7 separate regions of the Homo sapiens genome follow, and regions 1, 2, 3, 5, 6 and 7 are each linked to region 4. The links are contacts of gene promoters, found by promoter capture Hi-C in blood cells and fetal thymus (Javierre and others, 2016). All regions are on one chromosome and are shown on one strand. Each heading gives the region's core, a stretch centred on a gene start or on the middle of the fragment in contact. The rest is flanking DNA. Distances are from core to core; before and after follow the strand shown. Region 1 overlaps SAMTOR (S-adenosylmethionine sensor upstream of mTORC1). Region 2 overlaps HRAT17 (heart tissue-associated transcript 17). Region 3 has its middle 21 kb from the start of TMEM168. Region 4 holds the start of THAP5 (THAP domain containing 5). Region 5 overlaps LOC107986837. Region 6 holds the start of ORC5 (origin recognition complex subunit 5). Region 7 overlaps LOC107986837.

Region 1 (2,700 bases), core at 90-2,589, 4.4 Mb after region 4:
CCATCCTTACGGTACTTTGTCATTCATTTATACATACTGTCTATTAAAACCAGGTGTGATTTTCCCAATAGAAAGTATAAATGGAAAAGCAAAGACTACTTTTGATTTACAATTTGTATAAATTAGAGAAGTTAATTAGGGTGCTCAGTCAGTGGAGGACAAAATATTTAAATTTTCATCATGCTCAAAAAATAAACATGAAAAGTATAAACAAATTAAATTAGTTGCTAAGATAAAATTCAAACTACAGAGGATGGCTTTCAATAAATAGCAGTCACTCAAAAGCAGAATTTAAATTTTTCACAATAGTTACTGTTTTCAAAGTAAGAGTTCCAAGGTCAGAAAAGCAATAATTTCAATGTCATTTTTCTAGAGACCATTGTTTTAAGCTTATTAAAAAGGCTTTTTCATTTTGTGTTATTGTCAAAAGAAAACCTTGCAGCTGACAGTCCAGTCATATCCATTAAGTTCTTTAATAGCAGTACACAGATCTTTTCGAAAAATTTATTAGCTCAAGGAGAAATGAACAGTAACACCACCAAATAGATAAAGAATTACTTATATGTGAAAAAAATGAATAGGTGGTGCTAAGGTTCATGCATTTTTACATGCCAGGACCACTTGATTTTTATATACTTGATGTGTATAAAAATAATATTTTTTCTCAATAACTCTATCCTAATTCTCCTTTTTAAAACATACAAAGCACAGAAAATAAGTTAGCAAGTATATATGTGATGCCATTTTAAGATAAAAATATATTTACAAACCATATACCTGATAAGGGGTTAATATCCAAAAGATATATAAAAAAAACCTCAAACTGAATAGCAAAAAAACAAATAATCTGACTAAAAAATGGGCAATGACCTGAATAGATATTTTTCCAAAGACAACACAAAAAATGGCCAATGGGTATATAGAAGGGTGCTCAACAAAACTAATCATCAGGAAAATGCAAATTAAAACCACAATAAGATACTACCTCCCATCTGTTAGGATGGCTATTATCAAAAAGACCAGAGATAACAAGCATTGGTGAGGATGTGAAGAAAAGTGAATCCTGTATACTTATGTTGGGTATGTAAATTAGTACAGCCAAAACAGTATGGAGGTTCCTAAAAAAATTAAAAATAAAACTACTACATGATTCAGCAATCCCACTATGGGTATTTATCCAAAGGAAATGAAATCAGTATGTCAAAGAGATATCTGCAATCCTATAATCATTGCAGCATTACTCACAATAGCTAAGAAACGAAAATAAATGGAGGTGAATCTATAGTGAAAAGACATGTGAGACTGAGAGTATAGAGAGAGACCGACTGCAAAGAAGTATGAGAAAATTTTGGCAGTGATGAAAATGTTCTACGCCTTATTGTGGTAATGGTTTTACAGAGATGCATGCATTGTCAAAACTTACGGAATTATATACTTTAAAAAGACACAATTTACTGTACATGAATCATATCTCAATAAATTTAATTTTTAAAAATGATGTGCCACAAGCATGGTATATGTTACAAAATTAAGATTATATTTCATTAAATTTGAGGGCCATCAAATTCTCTAAAAAAGCAAAAAAATACATGAGTATCAAAAGTCTTAAACTTTTAGAAATTCAGAACAATTTATTTGATTCTGACTTAGGCATATTGCCAAATACGGGCCCTAAGATGCCTTATCTGTAGATGACAAGACTACCAAATTCAAGTTCAAAGTACCTTTAATGGTCATTTTCTCTAACACAAGGTAAGTAAAGAAACTCATGACTAAGTGCAAACAAGTTCAGCTACCATTTCAAGGCATTAAAACAAAATGTTCAGAATTCAGATTGTCTTACATAGTTAAGCCATACAACGACCAGTCTTCTCAGCTCTTGAGCACCTGATACAGTGACACATCTAAAAGTGGGATAAAAAACATCCAAGGTGTTTGGTAATTAAGAGCCAAAAAGTAACCAGAAAACAAAAAGTTTGAAAACCTGCATCTTATAGCCAACATGTTATGAATAGTCATTTCTCTAATGTGGGAAGAAAACACCACCAATATTCTGACATGCTAAAAAGGTTGGACTTTTCATATAAAAACTTAGAAACACAAACAGCAAAAGGGGCAAAAAAAAAAAAAAGAAGAAAAAGAAAAAGTCATTTTAATACTGAGAAGACTACAGAACAGTCTAGGTAAAAATTCCAGGAGCCATCCAGTCTTTAATGTCATAGTCCTTAAATGCATTGAAGCAGTATAGCTACAGATAAAAGAGCTGTTATTTTTAAATTTCTGTATTTTACAAGCTTAGTGTGTTTCCTATATGCCAAATGTTGTTTTAAGTGCTTTTCAAATATTAACTCATTTAATTATAATACCAATCCATTGAGGCAGATATTTTACTTTATAGATGAGGAAACTGAAGTAGAGCGATTAAGTAAACTTTTCCAAGGTTACACAACAAACCTGGTAGTCAAAAGCTAAAGTCATGCTCCTAACCACAAACTTTGCTTCTCTTCATAAGTTTTTAATTCATGAACTTTCATGGATATGAGCAAAGCTTTGCAACAGAGGAAAGTACACAGACTCTACTAACCACAAACAAATGGTCTTTTGTCAGTCAAATGCAGTTATTTAGTCTCTGCAACTGCATTATTTGTTAGATTTCTGGCAGTGGTTCTCAACTCTGGCTGCCAATTCTGGCTGCACATT
Region 2 (2,700 bases), core at 191-2,690, 4.4 Mb after region 4:
AGGGCCAGTGGCCTCAATTCTCTACAGGACCTCTCCACCTGGATAGGTTGGGCTTCTCAGAGCATGGTTGCCTTAGGGTAGTTAGACTTTTTACATGGTGGCAAACTTCTCACAGAGCACAAAAGAGGATACTTCCAGGCCTTTTTCAGGCCAAGTTGGTCTATTATATCTTGAGCAATTCTAATGGACCTTTGCCTAACTTGCCTCTCCTACCTATCATGCCTTTTCCATGCCTTTTTGCTAATCTACATTCTATACTTTCTCAAAGGTCCAGCACAAAGAACACTTCCTTCATGAAAAATTTCTAATTGTTCCGCCTCTGTGTGATAGCTCTTTCCTTTTGAAATCTGGCAACTCCTATTCTTTGTACTATTCACTTCTCATTGAAAATAAGCTGTCATATTATTATTTACTTTCCTATGGATAGCATATCCTATTTCCTCAACCCACTGTATGATCCTTGAGGACACAACCCAAGGTCCGTATCTACATCAAAGTGTCCATCATGTAATATGTGCTAAATAAGTGTTTGATAGCCAGGTCAGCTGGTTGTATACTGAGGCATTTCAGTTCTTTTTAGGAGATGTTATTCTACATGAAGTGATGTACATCTTGAACTTATACAGATGCTTAAAAAAATCTATTTGAGAAGTTATTTACCTGGACTACCAAAGAAGAATTTAAATTATTCATTGTAGGTATAATGAGTTCATATTATTTATTTTATAACATTTGAAATTTTTTTTTAAATTCATGTTTCTTGGTCTTTTTCAGTGACTCAAAGCAGCAGAAGCTTTTTAGGATGTTCAGCATCAATGAGGTAAGCCTAAAAAATGCAAAGATAAAACTAGTTAGCATGGAAATAATGAGTAGAAATGGTTATTAAGCTAATTGTCTTCAGCTGGAGAGAGAACTAGAGGAACTTTAATAGTATTTCTTTTCTGAACCACATTAGCTCTATCAACATAGCGCTGTGATCAACACATTAACTGATTTTGTCTTCTTCTACTCTATATGTCTACTATTATGACTTGGAGAGTAATAAATGTACCATTATAGTGAAGGAGGAAAATTGATGCTGATAGAAACTTAACAAGGAATGGGTTGGGTCTGTAAATCATTGAATACAACCCAAGAATTGTCTTGGCATACACATGTGTCAGTAACTTCAAAAGTAGTTTCTTTTCAGGACTCTACAGTGATTTCACTTTGAAGAAGTTTCTGAACTTTTAACTCAAGGTAATGAGCCAGTTAATAGGAGAGTGGGTTTTGTAGGAAGCAATTACCCCAGTTGATAGGAAACTTGAGAAAATGAGCACAAGTTGTAATGAGATTGGCAAAAATGTCATGTGTCTGAGAGCTGAGATGGAGTAAAAGGGAAAGATGGTGGGAGACAATACCATGAATACCACTGAAAATAAATACCATGAATACCACTGAAAATAAGGATGAGATATATTATTGGAGCTATGTCTACAGAAGGCTATAGAATTAATTTGCCTGCAGGCAAGATGACTTCTAGAAATGTGGAAGTCAGGAGTCCATGGTTCAATTCGAGCTTTTTAATGATCTAGTTTTAGTCCAAACAATATAGTGATAAAATAAATTTTAACAGAATAAACCATTATCTAGCAGTATATACTTCAGTTGACACCGTTTTGGAAAGAGTAGGTCATAGGCATTGCTTCCACTTCCTTGTCTCTCGGTCTAATTTCAGCCCACTGCAACCTGGTTTTCACCCCCGCAACTCTGCGGAAATTGCTTCGAGAAAGGTCAGCAATGATGTGATTGTCAAATATGTTAGCCTCTTTCAGCTCTCATCCTACTTTTCTTTTCTGCAGAATTTGATTGTTTATCATTTCCTTCTTCTTAAAACTCCTTCTTGGCTTCTAAGATGCAGCTCTTATTCTTCCCATGTGTCTCTGTTTGCTCTTTATCTTTCTTTTAGTACCATCTCTTCTGCTGGAATTTTCTGAGCAAACTACTCTCTTTTCTCACTCTACATGAATTTTCTGAATGATCTTATGTGATCCTGAAGCACCAACTATTACCTATGTATCTCTCAAATACTGATTACTCAACATTCTGAAGCTTTGGATCTGACATTGAATGTACTGTAACTTTTCAGGCTCAAGATTGCCCTCTCCAATCTCGTATTTTCTTTTCTTGTTTTCCTTGTCTCAATTCTCAGCAATCCTATCTATCCTATTGCCCAAGCTAGGAATCTTGAAGTATTCATTTCCTTTACACCTTTCCTCACTACTTATATTCAAATATGGTCCATTCAACCTCTGAAATGTGTTCAGTATCTGCCCATGCCTTTCCATTGCTACTATTACTCTCCCAATACAAAAAATAGTCTCTTATTTTTTGCTTGTAACTTTTCTTAATGGTTTTCTCATTGGGCTTACCTCTTTGAATCTGGTTAATCTCCCTTCCAATCTATTATTCATATTGCTGCTGGAGTTCTCTTTTTTAAATGATGGATTTGAGCATGTTCCTTCCATGCCATGCTTAAAACAAAAACAAAAACAAAAACACCTTCCAATAGCTTCACAGTTTGAGAACTGCCTACCTACCTTCTAACAATATTATCTTCTATGAGATCGACGATTCACAGGAATGGGCCTCCAGAAGCCAGCTGCTGATCCATAGGAATGGGCCCCCAGAAGCCATATTTATTCCAAATGTCTCCTCACT
Region 3 (2,700 bases), core at 198-2,697, 4.2 Mb after region 4:
ATACAGTGTCTAATGTTTATGAAACTAATTTCAAAAATGTATGGTAATTTAGACAGCTTAATTGATTAGGTAATTCAGATAATATGCTGAGTGAACATGAGCTTTGAAGTCAGGCCTGAGTTAAATCCTGGATGAACCACTTTCCTAACTCTGTAAATTTAGACAGTTGATTAACATCTCAAAGATTCACTTTCCTCACTAGTAAAATGGTAAGTAAAATCCTCACTTATTTTATAGTGAGGAAATGTTTGTAGAGTGCTTAGCACAATACTGGATAGGCAATCGTCGCTTTATGTTAGTAAGTTATGAAGATAAAAAATGTTATTTAGAATCAAATGGTATTTTATAAAAATGTTACTTTTTCTGTTGCTCCTGTTGTAATTTTTTAGGCTGTTGTCATGTCAAAAGGGGATACTAAGTTTCCAATCTGTTCTTGAGTATACAGTAATGCGGTCAATAACTTTAGTTGGTGCCTCCAACAAGTATTATCCGTGGATGAGGTTACATCTGGGTACTTTGGAATATGATAGAAGCAACATCTGGTGTGCTTTTATACAGCTCATGAAGTCAGTGCTTTAGAAACTGAATTAAAATGTTTCAAGGGTTTTCTTCCTATTTAATGCTGTGATGTTGCTAATCCCGTCCTCCTCTTAAAGCTGGTGATCCTCCTCACATTAACGGCCATTGATATAGTTTGGATAATTGTCCTCACTCAAATCTCATGTTGAAATGTAATCCTCAGTGTTAGAGGTGGGGCCTTGTGGGAGGTGTTTGGGTTATGGGAGTGGATTCCTCATGGCTTGGTGCCTTCCTCTGGGTAGCGAGTTCATTTTCACGAGATCTGGTTGTTCAAAGTGCATGGCACCTCCCCTACTCTCCCTTGCTCCTGCCTTCAGCATGTGAAGTGCCTGCTCCTGCTTTGCCTTCTGCCACAAGTAAAAGCTTCCTGAGGCCTCTCCAGAAGCAGATGCCAGCACTATGCTTCCTGTACAGCCTGCAGAAGCATGAGCCAATTAAACCTCTTTTCTTATAAATTACCCAGTCTTGAGTATAGCAATGCAAGAGTGGCCTAACACAGCCATCCTTGATATTTATGGAACCCTCTCAGGCTTAATAGTTGACTCAAGCACAATGAATAAGTGGTCCCCTGTCTTTGTGAATTCATAGATAAAAAGACAAGACAATCTTGTGTTGTGACTTGTTTTGTAGTTTCCATTGAAATCTTGTAGGGTAGGTTGTAGTGAAGTGTGTATCTTACATCATTTTCTGGGAATTCATAGGGAAGAAAAATTGAAGATAAGAAAATTTAACACTGATTTTCTTGCTCAATATGGTTCTAAGGAGTTGATATCAGATTTTGAATTGGGTGGTGATGGTGGAGATGAAACAGTGAATGTGTGCAGACCAGGCAAGACTGAATGAAGAGAAGGAATGGGGCTATAAAAGACACTTTGCCAAAATAAATAATAGTCACTATATGTCATATCCCTACTATGTGACAAGATTGTTATCTGCTTTATAGACATCATTTTCAAACCTATCGATAACCTTGCAAAGTGAATTTTTTGGATAAACAGGCCCTGAGGAGAACTTTGCCCCAGTAAGTTTTCATAGGGTTGGTGATGCAAATCTTTCTGGATACAAAAGCCAGTGGAAAGTAGTACAAATCACGTATCCCTTATACGAATAAAGAAACTGCTGGAGTACCACTTCTCTCCTGGGGTTGAAGAGATCATTTAGGTAAATACTCCTTTTAAAGATGTAAAAGCTAATGATGGTTTACAAACTTAAATTCTTACACTAGCAAGGAGTGGGAGCTGGCCATTGGAGAGAGAGTACTGACGGACGTGGTAAGAAAGTAGGATTTCAGGTTTAGATATAATTCATTTTAATGAATGTGTGGGAATACACAGAAGAGAAATTATATGGCTCCAGGTTACTTAGTATTGATCTAAGCTTCAGTTTATACAAACCAATTTAGACTTTCCTGAAGTATAAATTGAGTTATATCTTAATTATGAGAACATATTAATAAACTAATTAATATAAACAGGACTAGACTACCCCAAAAGATTCATAAACTAAGCAGCAGCAGTGGCCCTGTATCATCACAGTTGCATTTTGGAAGGTAAAATTAACCATTTGGAAATATGTATTCCATCACCTTCTTTATGCAAGGTACTTATTTAGGCTGAAGACACAGGACAGAAAAGGGCTTTGCCCATATATACAGATGAACATGGACAAAGATAAACTTCAGATAATTAGAGCTATGCAGAGACTTTATGGTATTGTGAAGAGACAATTTTCGATTATGTGTAATAGGAAGGTGTCCCAGAGGATGTGGCATTTAAGCAGAGATTTGAATAACAAAAACAAACTAGCCATGGAAATAAAATGTAGGAGGAAGAAATTCTAGGCAGAGGGAGTAGCTAGTGCAAAGGTGGTCACATGATGTGTGTGGGTGTGTGTGTTTCCCCCTAGGACTCTAACACAGAAGGTGAAGGAGAGAATGGTGGGAAGTTGCATTGGAGAGGTACGGAGGGGCTGCATCATTTACATTTGGCCCCTTTATGATAAGGGGTATCCATATTAAAGTAAATTGCCTCTAGATGGGTTAAGAACAGTGTGTCATAAAAGTCAAGTGAACAGGTTTCATTTATATGTACCACCAGATGCTGCAGTGCAAGAATGTTTTCT
Region 4 (2,700 bases), core at 110-2,609:
AGGCATGCGCCGCCACGCGCAGCTAATTTTGTATTTTTAGTACAGACGGGGTTTCTCCATGTTGGTCAGGCTGGTCTCAGACTGCCGACCTCAGGTGATCTGCCCGCCTCAGCCTCCCAAAGTGCTGGGATTACAGGCGTGAGCCACCGCGCCTGGTGGGGTTATCAATTTTTTTTCCATTAATTAAAATACTGGAAAGCAGCCGAATCATTAATGAATAAGTCCTTCAGGTCTAAAGTAAAATGAGCACAAAACAACTGCTGAAAATCTGAACCAGGTTAGATCTAAATGAATTGTTTTTAAATACAAGAAAAAATGGAAATGCAGTATTTTAAATATGTTGCTTTTCATGTGTTATTAATCATGTGAGTACTATTAACATCTCCATGTTACAGATGAGATATGTGAGACACCAAAGCTTAAATACTTTCCAAGAGGTCATTAAGCTACAGAATAGTGGAACCAGGATCTAGCATTGAAGCCTGGACCCCTAATTATTATACGACACTGCTTGTCTGTACTTCTGAATAAAAATCAGTGCTTCAGTAGTTTGATGGAAATATATCGTGGCTCTAGTAATTCAGAGTAACAGAATAAAACCTTGTTCTCCGCAGAGTATCTACAGCCCTAAGCAGAAGACTAGTTTATAATTCTGGCTCTGACACTAAACTTTCAAGGTCGGTTACCTAATCATTCCGGGCCTCAGTTTCCTCAGGAGAAAAGTGGGATGAAATTATACCTATGCGACCTACCTCGCGGGGGGTGTAAATTAACTTTGCGTGCACCTTTCCACTTCGCAGGTTTCACGTATCTTAAATGGTGGTTAATGTTGTTCAATGAAATGAGATCACGTGAAGTGGGGAAAAGACTGAAAACCACAGAAGCCCGCGCAAACTTTACTGTTTTAACTGTTAACACCCAAACAGGCTCCTGGGCCTCGCCACCAGCCAGCAGTCCTCGCGCAAGAAGGGCATTGCTAGCTAAACTGAACTAGCGCCTTCCCTCCGTCTTGCCGCGGGCGACGGGCCACGTACGGAGAGCTGAGGACTCACTGGCAGAGCGGACAGGAGACACCCAAGCCCAAAGGCCACAGGTCCAAGGCCTCACGGCGAGGCTGACGCTTCTGCTCCAGAAACAACTTACGGATAAAAACTCAGCTTCCGGTCTTTATTGTTTCGTCCCCGGCGGTTCTTACAACAAATCGCTGCGCAATAGCGGGGCATGACTCGGGTGAGGCCCCTGGAGACCGGGGCCGGCGACGGATGCAGGGCGGCCCTCCTCACTGAGGATGCGCCACAGGTCCAGGCCTCTCGAGCCCCTGCGCCTGCGCTAGCATTCTGCCGGGAAAGCCGCCTCGTCTGTCGACTCACTTCCGCCTCCTCCGGTTTAAGCACCGCCTTTTCGGGGGTTGAAGCCGGAAGTGGCGCACAGCCCTAGCAGCAACAACAGTTTTCCACGTGCGCGTAGGGCGCCGGGATCACGTGGGGAGGCAGAAGCCAATGGGGAAGCGTTTCGTGTAGGTCTTCTGAGGTGGTGGCGCCAGCGGCTACCTCCTGCCTGTGAGGAGCTGGCTGAGAGGGGACTGGGCGCCGGCGGGGAAGGAGGAGCGCTAGGTCGGTGTACGACCGAGATTAGGGTGCGTGCCAGCTCCGGGAGGCCGCGGTGAGGGGCCGGGCCCAAGCTGCCGACCCGAGCCGATCGTCAGGGTCGCCAGCGCCTCAGCTCTGTGGAGGAGCAGCAGTAGTCGGAGGGTGCAGGTGAGGGACGAGGCCGGGGTCGTGGGGAGGGGAGTTCGGAGGGTCCCCGTAGCCCAGGCCTGTCTTTGTGAGCTGACTTGGCCTCGGTGTCCGCCACGGTCGCCGCAGGGACAATGGGCTGCATGTTTTTGGCCGAGAGAATGGAAGAACGGAGACAGCCGCATCACAGAATCGTGTTTTGGGTTGTGGCGCCGGCTTTCACGGGCGCCGGATTAGAGCCCGGGTCTCGGGCAGCTTCTGCGGCGGGGCCTGGGCGGGCAGGGAAAGTGCCAGTCGCCTTTAGGTGAAGGTTGGAGGGTCTAGCCCAGCCGCCCACCGAGGCTGGGGAATAAGGCACGGGCTGCTGGCTGGCGGGGCCGTCTTGGGGATGAGAAGTCTGTACAATACAAAACTAGTCTGCTAAAAAAAAATCATTAGATGTCCACCTTGAGACCGTGGAATAACGTCTGCTGAACCAGTGAGGCGCCTCCCTGTCAGTTTTAGATCCGCCCTTTGACTAGGGAGCAACCTGCAGTTGACGCAGCGTCCATGGGACACACTGTTGTGTTCCTTAAACCGAGAAGTGGTTCTTGATTCTTGGTACCCGTGACTACGAGTAACTCTCTGGAAATAAGTAATCTACCTGCCTGCTAATTACTCTCAGGAAAGGCCGCTGGAGAGGAAGCCAGGCAATTTCCACAAACCGTAGTGTTTTTCGTCAGCCTTATTATGGCATTATAGGTTACTAAGGACTCTGGTGGTCCCGTATTCAAAAAACAGGATCCATCCCTTCGTTTTGAATCTCAAGTCATTGAATACATATTGTCAAGAATTCTAAGTTAACATTTCTTTAATGGTTTAAAGGTAAAAGAAATATTTTAACTACTGAGTTTGTGAAAGTAAGAATCTGCCTTAACCACAGTACAAACTATCAAAGTTCATTTTTCTGGCAGCTTTAGCAGAA
Region 5 (2,700 bases), core at 145-2,644, 4.5 Mb after region 4:
ATAACTATATATTTATATATAGTTATATATATTTATATATATTTATATATATATATATAAATACAAGATATCCTCCATGTTGGAATAAGGTGTGTGTGTGTGTGTGTGTGTGTGTGTGTGTGTATAATGGAATTCTACTCAGCCATAGGAAAGAAAGAAATGTCTTTTGTAACAGCATGGGTGGAACTGGAGGCCATTATCTTAAGTGAAATGACTCAGAAACAGAAAGCCAAATACCTCATGTTCTCACTTATAAGTGGGAGCTACACATGAACATACAGAGCGGAATCAAAGCCACTGGAGACTCCAGAAGTTGGGAGGATGAGAGGGAGTTGAGGGATGAGAAATTATCTGTTGGGTACAATTTACATCATTCAGGTATTGGTAACACTAAAAGCCTGGGGTTCACCACCATACAAAGTATCAATTTAACAAAACTGCACTTGTGCGCCTTAAATTTATACAAATAAAACAACTGCTATAGCAACCACTTTATGCCAGCATTATCTGGAAAAAACAAAAATATAAACAAACTGGAGATGTCCATCTTTGTACAAAAGCTTGAGTGCTCTTTCCTTGCTTTCATTTTATATTTTTATGGTAATGCTTCTAATCTGAATTTTATTTTAATTCTACTTAATTTTTGTCAGGCTGCCGAAATAGATTATATTTTTTCCTATGATATCTTTTGTTTTGTCATCTAAACCATTTGGGCTTTTTCTGTGGACAGAGTTCTTAAGTCAGACTACAAATGTTTATTGAATGTGTATTGTATTAAATGCTTTATCTTGGGTGTTCAAGAATAATGCAAAGCAGGAAGGACAAGTTTTCTATTTTTAAGAATATTGCTATTAGGCTGGCATGTTTAATTTAATGAACTATAAAGCAAAACTTTAAACTTCTTTTAGGTAGGACCAACTTTTGCTCACATGGTATAATTTTCTATGTATTTTTGGTGCATTGTCCATCCACATCCCTTCTCCCCACTTCTGGTAATTTTATCCTTCATTCTTCTCTCTAAACCCAATATCAGGTGTTTAATCCCACTTTGGAGTTCCATTTGGAGGTTTTTATTTTTAGTTTAATGTGTAGACCCCAAAGTCATATTAGCATTCAGTATCAAGAGCCAGAAGACCTCTAGGCCTGCAAGACCCAGAAGAGGCACCATTAATCAGGTATCACAAAAGTACTGGAGAGTGTATAGAACTTAGGCATTTGTGTTTAGGATGTTTCCTGATGGCTTTCCTTAAGTCATGTCATCTATCAGGAAACTGTTTCTGTAGCTTTTCAAGGCTGGCCCCACTTCTGGGTATTCTGTTTGCCTAAGCCTTCCTTCACCTTGCTCATCTTCCTTCAAAGGGGAATTCTAGTTTTAAGTGCTCAGCAGTGAATGTGTTTGGGGTACACAATTTCTACTTATTTATATTTTTCTTTAAGAAAATGAGTCCCCAAATAACTTGCGAGTGATTCTGCTGGTGCCCTACAGCCTGTTTGCAGCATAGCCAGAACTAGGATTCATATGGTTTTGACTCCTTGTTTAGTGCTCTTTTAATTATGTCACAGACTTTCATAGCCATAAACTTCTGTCACTTTGCAACACCACCGAGGAAAGAAACACTTCTTTGTGTGGTTTGGTACTTATTATTGTAATAATGTTTAATTAATAATATTTCTTGATAGCTATCATTAGTATGGACCACTAATAAAAAATGTAGAGATCACTGGACAAATAATGTTTTAATTTTAATTATGAAAACAATAAGAATAATCTTGAAAATGAATATTGAAGACCATATAATACTTCTTTCACTTAATATGCTGAGTCTTTTTTTGATCCCTCTTATGAACTGCTTATTATAAAAGTGCACAGTGACTCTGAACTTTTTCTCTAACAGGAGATTTGTTACTTTCTCTCCTGGGTTAGAAACTTTTCTTTCCACACCTAGAATTCAGAGTGTCTTTTATAAACCCAGACCTCTAGCATTTCTGGTACAGTAGTATATAGTCACCTCAGTTATCCTCCATGTTGGAAAACTTGCTTCTTTAGAAGATCAGGACAATAGACACATTAGATATATTTTTATGTATATATTTGCAACGGATGAATTATAATGTAAGAATTAATATACAGAAGTCAATTTCTAGGCTGAAACCACAGGTTCAAAGGATATGAATATATTTTTGGTACTTGGTAGAAATTATCTATTTTGCTTATTATAGTATTATAATAAGCTTATTATAGTGTTATCAATAATGACAAGATGTTAAATACCATTGGCATGTCCAGCATTATTAAAGGTATTGTTTTGGAATAAGTAATGGTAAATATAAGGGGTAGAATATTACTTGATTGTTAAAATATCCGTGAAACACTTACATGTTAAACAGACAAACAAAACTAGAAGACAAAATGGTATGCATGTTCCAATCCAGTTTCATTAAATTTATGCAGGTGGAAGATGGCTTGGAAGAGTGAAAACAGTTTTGCTGAGGACAGGTAAGGTATGGGTCATTCTGATATTATCTAATGTTATCTATATATCATTACCATATATACCATATCATTATCTAATGTCATCTATATATCATTACCATATATACTAATTATCTAATGTTATGATTTTTTTAGTTAAAAAGCAATACATTAGATAGTGTAATAACCATTTAATTTGGTTTATAAGTTACAGAAAAAAATTTTTT
Region 6 (2,700 bases), core at 19-2,518, 4.4 Mb before region 4:
GTGATCTCATAAGATTATAATACCCTATTTTCACTGTACCTTTTCTATGTTTAGACACTTTTAGATGCAGACTTATCACTGTGTTACAACTGCCTACAGTATTCAGTATAGTAGCACCGCTGTAGAGGTTTATAGCCTAGGAGGAACAGGCTACACCATACAGCCTAGGTGTATAGCAGGCTACACCATCTAGGTTTGTGTAAATACACTTTCTGATATTCACAGGGATTAAATTGCCTAACGATGCATTTCTCAGGACGTATCCCCCTCACTAAGTGGCAGCAACGCATGACTGTACTTAAAAAAGCAAACCAGAAGATGGGGGTATGAGTATGACCCTGAATTCTCATTCACTCTCTTCGCAGGTAAGATCCAAGTTTGATTAATTCCAATTCTGATTGAGTCTGAATCAAAAAGCACATCAAAGACCACCAGAAAATAGTCAAAAATAGGTTAAATTTTGAATTGGTGAACGCTACCCTCTGCCTATTGAAAGGACTCCCTACGTATCTATGTTCATCCAGACAAGACAAACTCCTCTCTAGGGCATCCTGTGAACTATCAGTTAAGGAGAAAAGTTTACCCTAGACCTCTTCTGGACTGTTACAATTCTGGAAAAGCCAGTAAATTTTTAAACCTGAAGCACTGCTTTGGCCCTTAGTGGCCTTGAAAGCAACCACCTCTCTACACTTGACTCACTCCAACTACCGCACAGAAACGTGTGAACTTACATTTGAATAAATAACACCCTGCAAACACATCTGTTACATAAATGTCATTGGGTTGGGGTAAGATAACAAGCAACTTCTAGGAGCTAATGTGGGCAAACTTCTGAAAAGTGTGGCGTGTTTCAAATACGTCTTAGGCAACGTCCTATAGTGCAGGCCGGTCGCTCTCAGACTGTCTCCTCTTCAATATTCGGAAGAGACTGTGGGTGAAGCTGCAGTACAGAACCACAACACCCCTATTTAACGTAAAAACGGCCTTTTGGCCCTCAATCCAAACACGAAAAAACAAATATTGGAACAGGTCGCAAGACTACCGAAACGTCTGCCTCCAGGATCTGGAAGACAGTTTAACTACAATACCTCTCCAAACAAGGACTGCAAGATGGACACTTGAGACTCGCGACAAAGCACCACGTTTTCCAAGTGGGGCATTCTGGCAGGCACCACCGCAGAGGCCAGTGCAGCCAGCCCACAGGACCCTTGCACAAGACGGAGCCTCTCCCGAGTCTGGCGGCCCACGCTCCCGCCGGAAACCGGACCCGCAGCGTCGTGGGAGGAGCCTGCGCTGCCGGGCTGCGGCGTGACGGCAGCGCGTACGCCGAGCGTCGCCGCCGCTCTAGTCTCAGGGCCGGAACCATCCTCTTCTCGCTGGTCCTGTGCGCGCCGAGGTTTTGCCCATTCTTGGGCTTGGTGGGGATTTCGGGCTGACGCTTTTTCCACTCAAAGGCTAAGGAGACGACATGGAGATGGGCGAATAGGGAAGGGGTGGAAGGGGTTAAGGGGGTCCCGTGGGCCTCCAATGACCCCTGAACCCCGTGCCTTTAGTTTTACCGGCTGGAAGCCCCAAGTTTAGAAACCTTGAGTGCCTAAGAAGACGGACCCGGAGCTGGGGCCCTTAGAGGGACGTGGAAGGCGGACTTAGAAGACTAATATTGTCAAAAGATGTTTTTGTTGTCGTTTTTTTCCCTGACGACGTTGTGGGAAATTAGTGGCATTGAGTACAAAACAGGGTGTAATGGGGTTTAATGCACAGCTTGGAATTACTATTTTTTGTGCAAGCTTTAAACCAGATGTGGAAAGCCTCTCAGTCCTAATGGGATGAAGTCGTAGTGTGTGTTGGTGAGGTTGATAGTAAAAATAATGCTACTTTTAGCATTAGGCTTTCACGTGTATTTATTTGTGAGGCACCTACTAGCGACTAAACACTAGAAGATTCTGGAAATAAGATACAGAAGTAGGCAAGTGCATGGTGGAAAGAGAGCTTGGCGTCCTGAAACCCCTGGGTTGGGACCACTGACTGACTCAACTGCTGAATAGGGGGACTTTGGAATAGTTGAGCCTCAACTTCCTTATCTATAAAATAGGGATAATACTGGCTAGGTTATTGCTAGGAGTAGAAGATCCTGTACATACTACCTGTTATACATAAATTTAAATTGTGGACTTCAATCTGCCCATAGATTGTAGATCAGTCTTAGATTTGTGATGGTCAAAAGGATCTTTTGAGAGTTGTGGTATATAACGTATTAGCTAGTCAAAATAGTATTTTCACAGCAACAATTCAAAAGCATTTGCCCAGGTACTTTTTAATAGAGAATTCTAAAGGTTATAATGGGACCACCCATTAAATTTCAATGTCTCCAAGGGAAGCTGGCCTCTGATACTCTCCTAAGATGGTTATACGTCCGTAACATACTGTGCATATAAGGTATACATATATTATAATCATAACACGACATCTTTATAGCATTCAATAAAACTGACTAAACTGTCTAAAATGTTAGTCTCCCTCTCTATATACTTTATGAGGACAGGAAACACTGTCTTCACAGTTCAATTTCCAGCATACACAGTTAACGCCTGGCAGTTACATAATAAAGATAATTGTTGATCTGAGAGAACATGCCTTACCATCTGGATGATTTAGGATGGTTTCTCAGAGGAGAGAACCTGGAAGCTGAGGCTGAAGAAA
Region 7 (2,700 bases), core at 28-2,527, 4.6 Mb after region 4:
GGGGTTCCCTTTCTATTTAGTTTGTTTTGTGTCCAAATGTTCTAGAAAAGAAGCTTAGGTTTTCATCGGCTTAGAAAAATGAGACCACAGTCAGGTGGACCAACTTATTTAATTTCTACTCTTCAAAGTAGTGCTACTAAAACAACAACAATACTCAAAATCAAGAAGACAAAGCCTCCAAACCTAGAATCCTTTTAGACCCTGTGGATCGAGAAGTGGATGAAATAAAAGAATCGGTTGATTCCTTGGCAACTTTTCATTAACATTCAAAGCAGATTTTAAAAGATTAATTGAGAACATGAAAAATAGATGTTATTGTAACCATTCTTTTTATTTTGGTTAGAAAAGGCCCAACTGGGTTTTTATAAGTTGAACAAAATACATTTCCCATTATCTATGAAAACATGGTAATCTATTATGGATAAATCATTCTTATTATCCTTTTCTTTTTGTGCTCTTTCAATGAGAATTTCTTCTGGACTCTTACCCCTCTTATAATTGGGTAATGATAAAATTAGATAAATTTTAATACCAATGATTTGGCTTCTAAATTTTGTTGCATTTAAATGGAATTGGAGCCATTTAGCATAGATTAAATTCCAGATCTTGTCTCTGTCTCAGTGAATAGGTTCAGATTTCTAATGGAAGACCAAGACTGATATTAGGACCAGCTACTGATAAAGTCAGCAAAACTACTATATGCCACCGTGTTTGCCTTACATAATTATAGAGGTGGGTTTTACATTAGGCTGGCTGAAAGTAGAATTCTGAGATGAAGAGTTATATGTAAAGATTTTTTGAGATGTGCTCTCCAGAACTGCACCTGTGAGGAGATGAGAAAAGGAAGATAGGGTAGAGGGGAAAGCTGACTCACAATGCAACTGAGGTCTTGGGAGAGCTTACAGGGAGCTCTGGAAAGGAGATGTCTCTAAGAATTGTTCCAAATTGAAGCAAAGGGGACTTTATTCCTTGGCGTGTGTTGGGCATTGACTGTGGCTCTCCCCTGAGAAGTATTTAGTGAGGTAGTTGCTTGTAGCCAAGAGCATTTCTCTGTCAGGGTTACATCTGTAAGCTTTTACCAGATGGTATTCCTCAAAGCTGAGGGCAGTAGGCTTTAACCCTGAAGAGGGAACCTGGGTGGATCATCATAGTTCCAACCACGCTTGGTAACGTAGCTCAGCTTTCTGCAGTCTACTATATATGGCATAGAATAGCAGGTTGGCAGGGAGGATTAATAAAAATCCATGTGGATTATGGCTTCTTCTGGAAAGGTTAATTAAAACTGTGCTTACCATACTTGTTACCTCTGTACCATCAAAGCAAGCAGAGAATAGTCATACTTTACCTCTTTTCCCACATGTCACACTCAAAACCATAGCTTAGATACTGTGTTTGAGAGTTGAACCTTAGATGTTTTATTTAAATGATTCTTCTAAATTGGACAGGTATAGTTTATCTTGATGCCAACTGGCTTATACCAGATTAAGCTTTAATATTGTGAAGTCTCCGGTTCATTAAAAAATAGCTATTTAACAACAAAAAAAAAATACTTTGGGAACCCATTTAAGGTAACTCCAAACCTTAAATGGGTTCTAAAGTATTTTTTTTTGTTGTTGTTAAATAGCTGGTTTTGTATTAGTCATTTGAGAAAGTAGTAATACTTCTTTTGATTGAATTTGCTTCTGGTTATCATGCTTGTTTAGATTTAGAGAACAGGAAGCGTGTTAGAGCTGTGTGATGCTCTGCCCTCTTTTAGCTAGGTGGCTACTAGACACTGTGAGAAGGAAGCAGTTGATTACCTTTCAGACTACATGTCACTGGGATGATCCTGCAGCAATAAAGGTTAATTTTTATATTAATAAAACTAGAGAGATCTTTTGGCAACCTCAAGCCTTTGGCTTTCTGGAAAATATAAACCCATTTTTATACTTATGGGACTTGGTTTTAGTGATATCAGGGCCCCTGTCAACCCTTGATCGTGTAGAGTTAACATGGCCTGGGTAGATGTGTTTCCAAGCATTGGAATCTGGGATACAAAGCTGAGTGGTTTAATTTGTTGTTACTATGTTGTATCTTTTCACACAAGTGCTACATCCAACCCAGTCGTGAAACAAAATGATTTGGATTTTCTCATTTTTTCAAAGAATACTTACTGATGTGTTACGGAAGCTAAAAGGGAAAACCAAATTGATGATAATCAATTCCTATGGACATATCAAAGCAGGTAGAGTAGAAGGCATCCTGGAAGAGCTACTATCTGAGAGGAAACCTGTAAGTTAAGTAAGAATTAGCCATATTAATGGCAGAAATATGGCAGGGATGGTTTCTTAGTAAGAGGGGGCAATGGATGGAAAGGCCTCAGAGAAAGAGAGCCTGTCTGTAGTTTATGATAGCTAAAACACAGGCTATTTTCATAAGAATCAGTAAGGAGAAGGGGATTAAGAGGTGAGCAGGGGTCTGATTAGAAAAATATTATATTGTGAGCATATAAGACTTTATCTGGAGAACACAGGGAACCATTGAATTGTCTTCAGCAGAAGAGTACTATGACCAGATTTGCATTTGGAGAGCAGTATAAACAGCAATTGGAGAGACCACAAGGGGAGGCATCAGGACCAGTGAAGAGACAAGGAAGAGGTCATGAGCACCCAGATTAGGGTAGAGACAATGAGGATGGTGGAAAGTGAGCAGATTTGAGAG

What was found. Contacts are between HindIII fragments. The CHiCAGO score rates a contact against its expected background, and 5 or more counts as called.
Region 1: a contact is called between a fragment that was not itself captured here and the fragment with the promoter of THAP5 in region 4, in 8 of 17 cell types (total CD4 T cells, non-activated CD4 T cells, activated CD4 T cells and 5 more). The highest score is 17.9, in total CD4 T cells.
Region 2: a contact is called between a fragment that was not itself captured here and the fragment with the promoter of THAP5 in region 4, in 2 of 17 cell types (total CD4 T cells and non-activated CD4 T cells). The highest score is 11.0, in total CD4 T cells.
Region 3: a fragment that was not itself captured here is called in contact with the fragment with the promoter of THAP5 in region 4 in 1 of 17 cell types (activated CD4 T cells); the score reaches 5.0 in activated CD4 T cells.
Region 5: a fragment that was not itself captured here is called in contact with the fragment with the promoter of THAP5 in region 4 in 4 of 17 cell types (total CD4 T cells, activated CD4 T cells, non-activated CD4 T cells and 1 more); the score reaches 14.5 in total CD4 T cells.
Region 6: the fragment with the promoter of ORC5 here is called in contact with the fragment with the promoter of THAP5 in region 4 in 1 of 17 cell types (total CD4 T cells); the score reaches 5.6 in total CD4 T cells.
Region 7: a contact is called between a fragment that was not itself captured here and the fragment with the promoter of THAP5 in region 4, in 4 of 17 cell types (non-activated CD4 T cells, total CD4 T cells, activated CD4 T cells and 1 more). The highest score is 11.4, in non-activated CD4 T cells.

Annotation. Positions count from the first base shown.
Region 1 is chr7:112,928,411-112,931,110 of GRCh38, forward strand. All of the region lies in intron 1 of SAMTOR (S-adenosylmethionine sensor upstream of mTORC1), which reads right to left. Among named protein-coding and RNA genes, the nearest start is that of SAMTOR, 10 kb to the right of the region's middle. The HindIII fragment of the contact is 1,905 bases long and covers 388-2,292 here.
Region 2 is chr7:112,953,943-112,956,642 of GRCh38, forward strand. It overlaps HRAT17 (heart tissue-associated transcript 17), which reads right to left. Exons shown (of 6, transcript NR_110162.1): 5 at 2,580-2,700; 6 at 693-826. Among named protein-coding and RNA genes, the nearest start is that of SAMTOR, 15 kb to the left of the region's middle. The HindIII fragment of the contact is 1,298 bases long and covers 792-2,089 here.
Region 3 is chr7:112,810,423-112,813,122 of GRCh38, forward strand. No RefSeq gene overlaps it. Among named protein-coding and RNA genes, the nearest start is that of TMEM168, 21 kb to the left of the region's middle. The HindIII fragment of the contact is 1,014 bases long and covers 941-1,954 here.
Region 4 is chr7:108,568,347-108,571,046 of GRCh38, forward strand. It overlaps THAP5 (THAP domain containing 5), which reads right to left and starts at 1,360. Exons shown (of 3, transcript NM_001130475.3): 1 at 1,144-1,360. The coding sequence starts at 1,223. It overlaps DNAJB9 (DnaJ heat shock protein family (Hsp40) member B9), which reads left to right and starts at 1,528. Exons shown (of 3, transcript NM_012328.3): 1 at 1,528-1,757. RefSeq lists enhancers at 943-1,422, 956-1,683. The HindIII fragment of the contact is 6,219 bases long and covers 417-2,700 here.
Region 5 is chr7:113,105,303-113,108,002 of GRCh38, forward strand. LOC107986837 reads left to right here. Exons shown (of 4, transcript XM_047421162.1): 2 at 2,453-2,497. Among named protein-coding and RNA genes, the nearest start is that of SMIM30, 12 kb to the right of the region's middle. The HindIII fragment of the contact is 1,672 bases long and covers 559-2,230 here.
Region 6 is chr7:104,206,745-104,209,444 of GRCh38, forward strand. ORC5 (origin recognition complex subunit 5) reads right to left here and starts at 1,269. Exons shown (of 14, transcript NM_002553.4): 1 at 1,089-1,269. The coding sequence starts at 1,160. RefSeq lists enhancers at 928-1,117, 1,158-1,237, 1,288-1,447. The HindIII fragment of the contact is 7,936 bases long and covers 1-1,785 here.
Region 7 is chr7:113,128,956-113,131,655 of GRCh38, forward strand. All of the region lies in intron 2 of LOC107986837, which reads left to right. Among named protein-coding and RNA genes, the nearest start is that of SMIM30, 12 kb to the left of the region's middle. The HindIII fragment of the contact is 415 bases long and covers 1,071-1,485 here.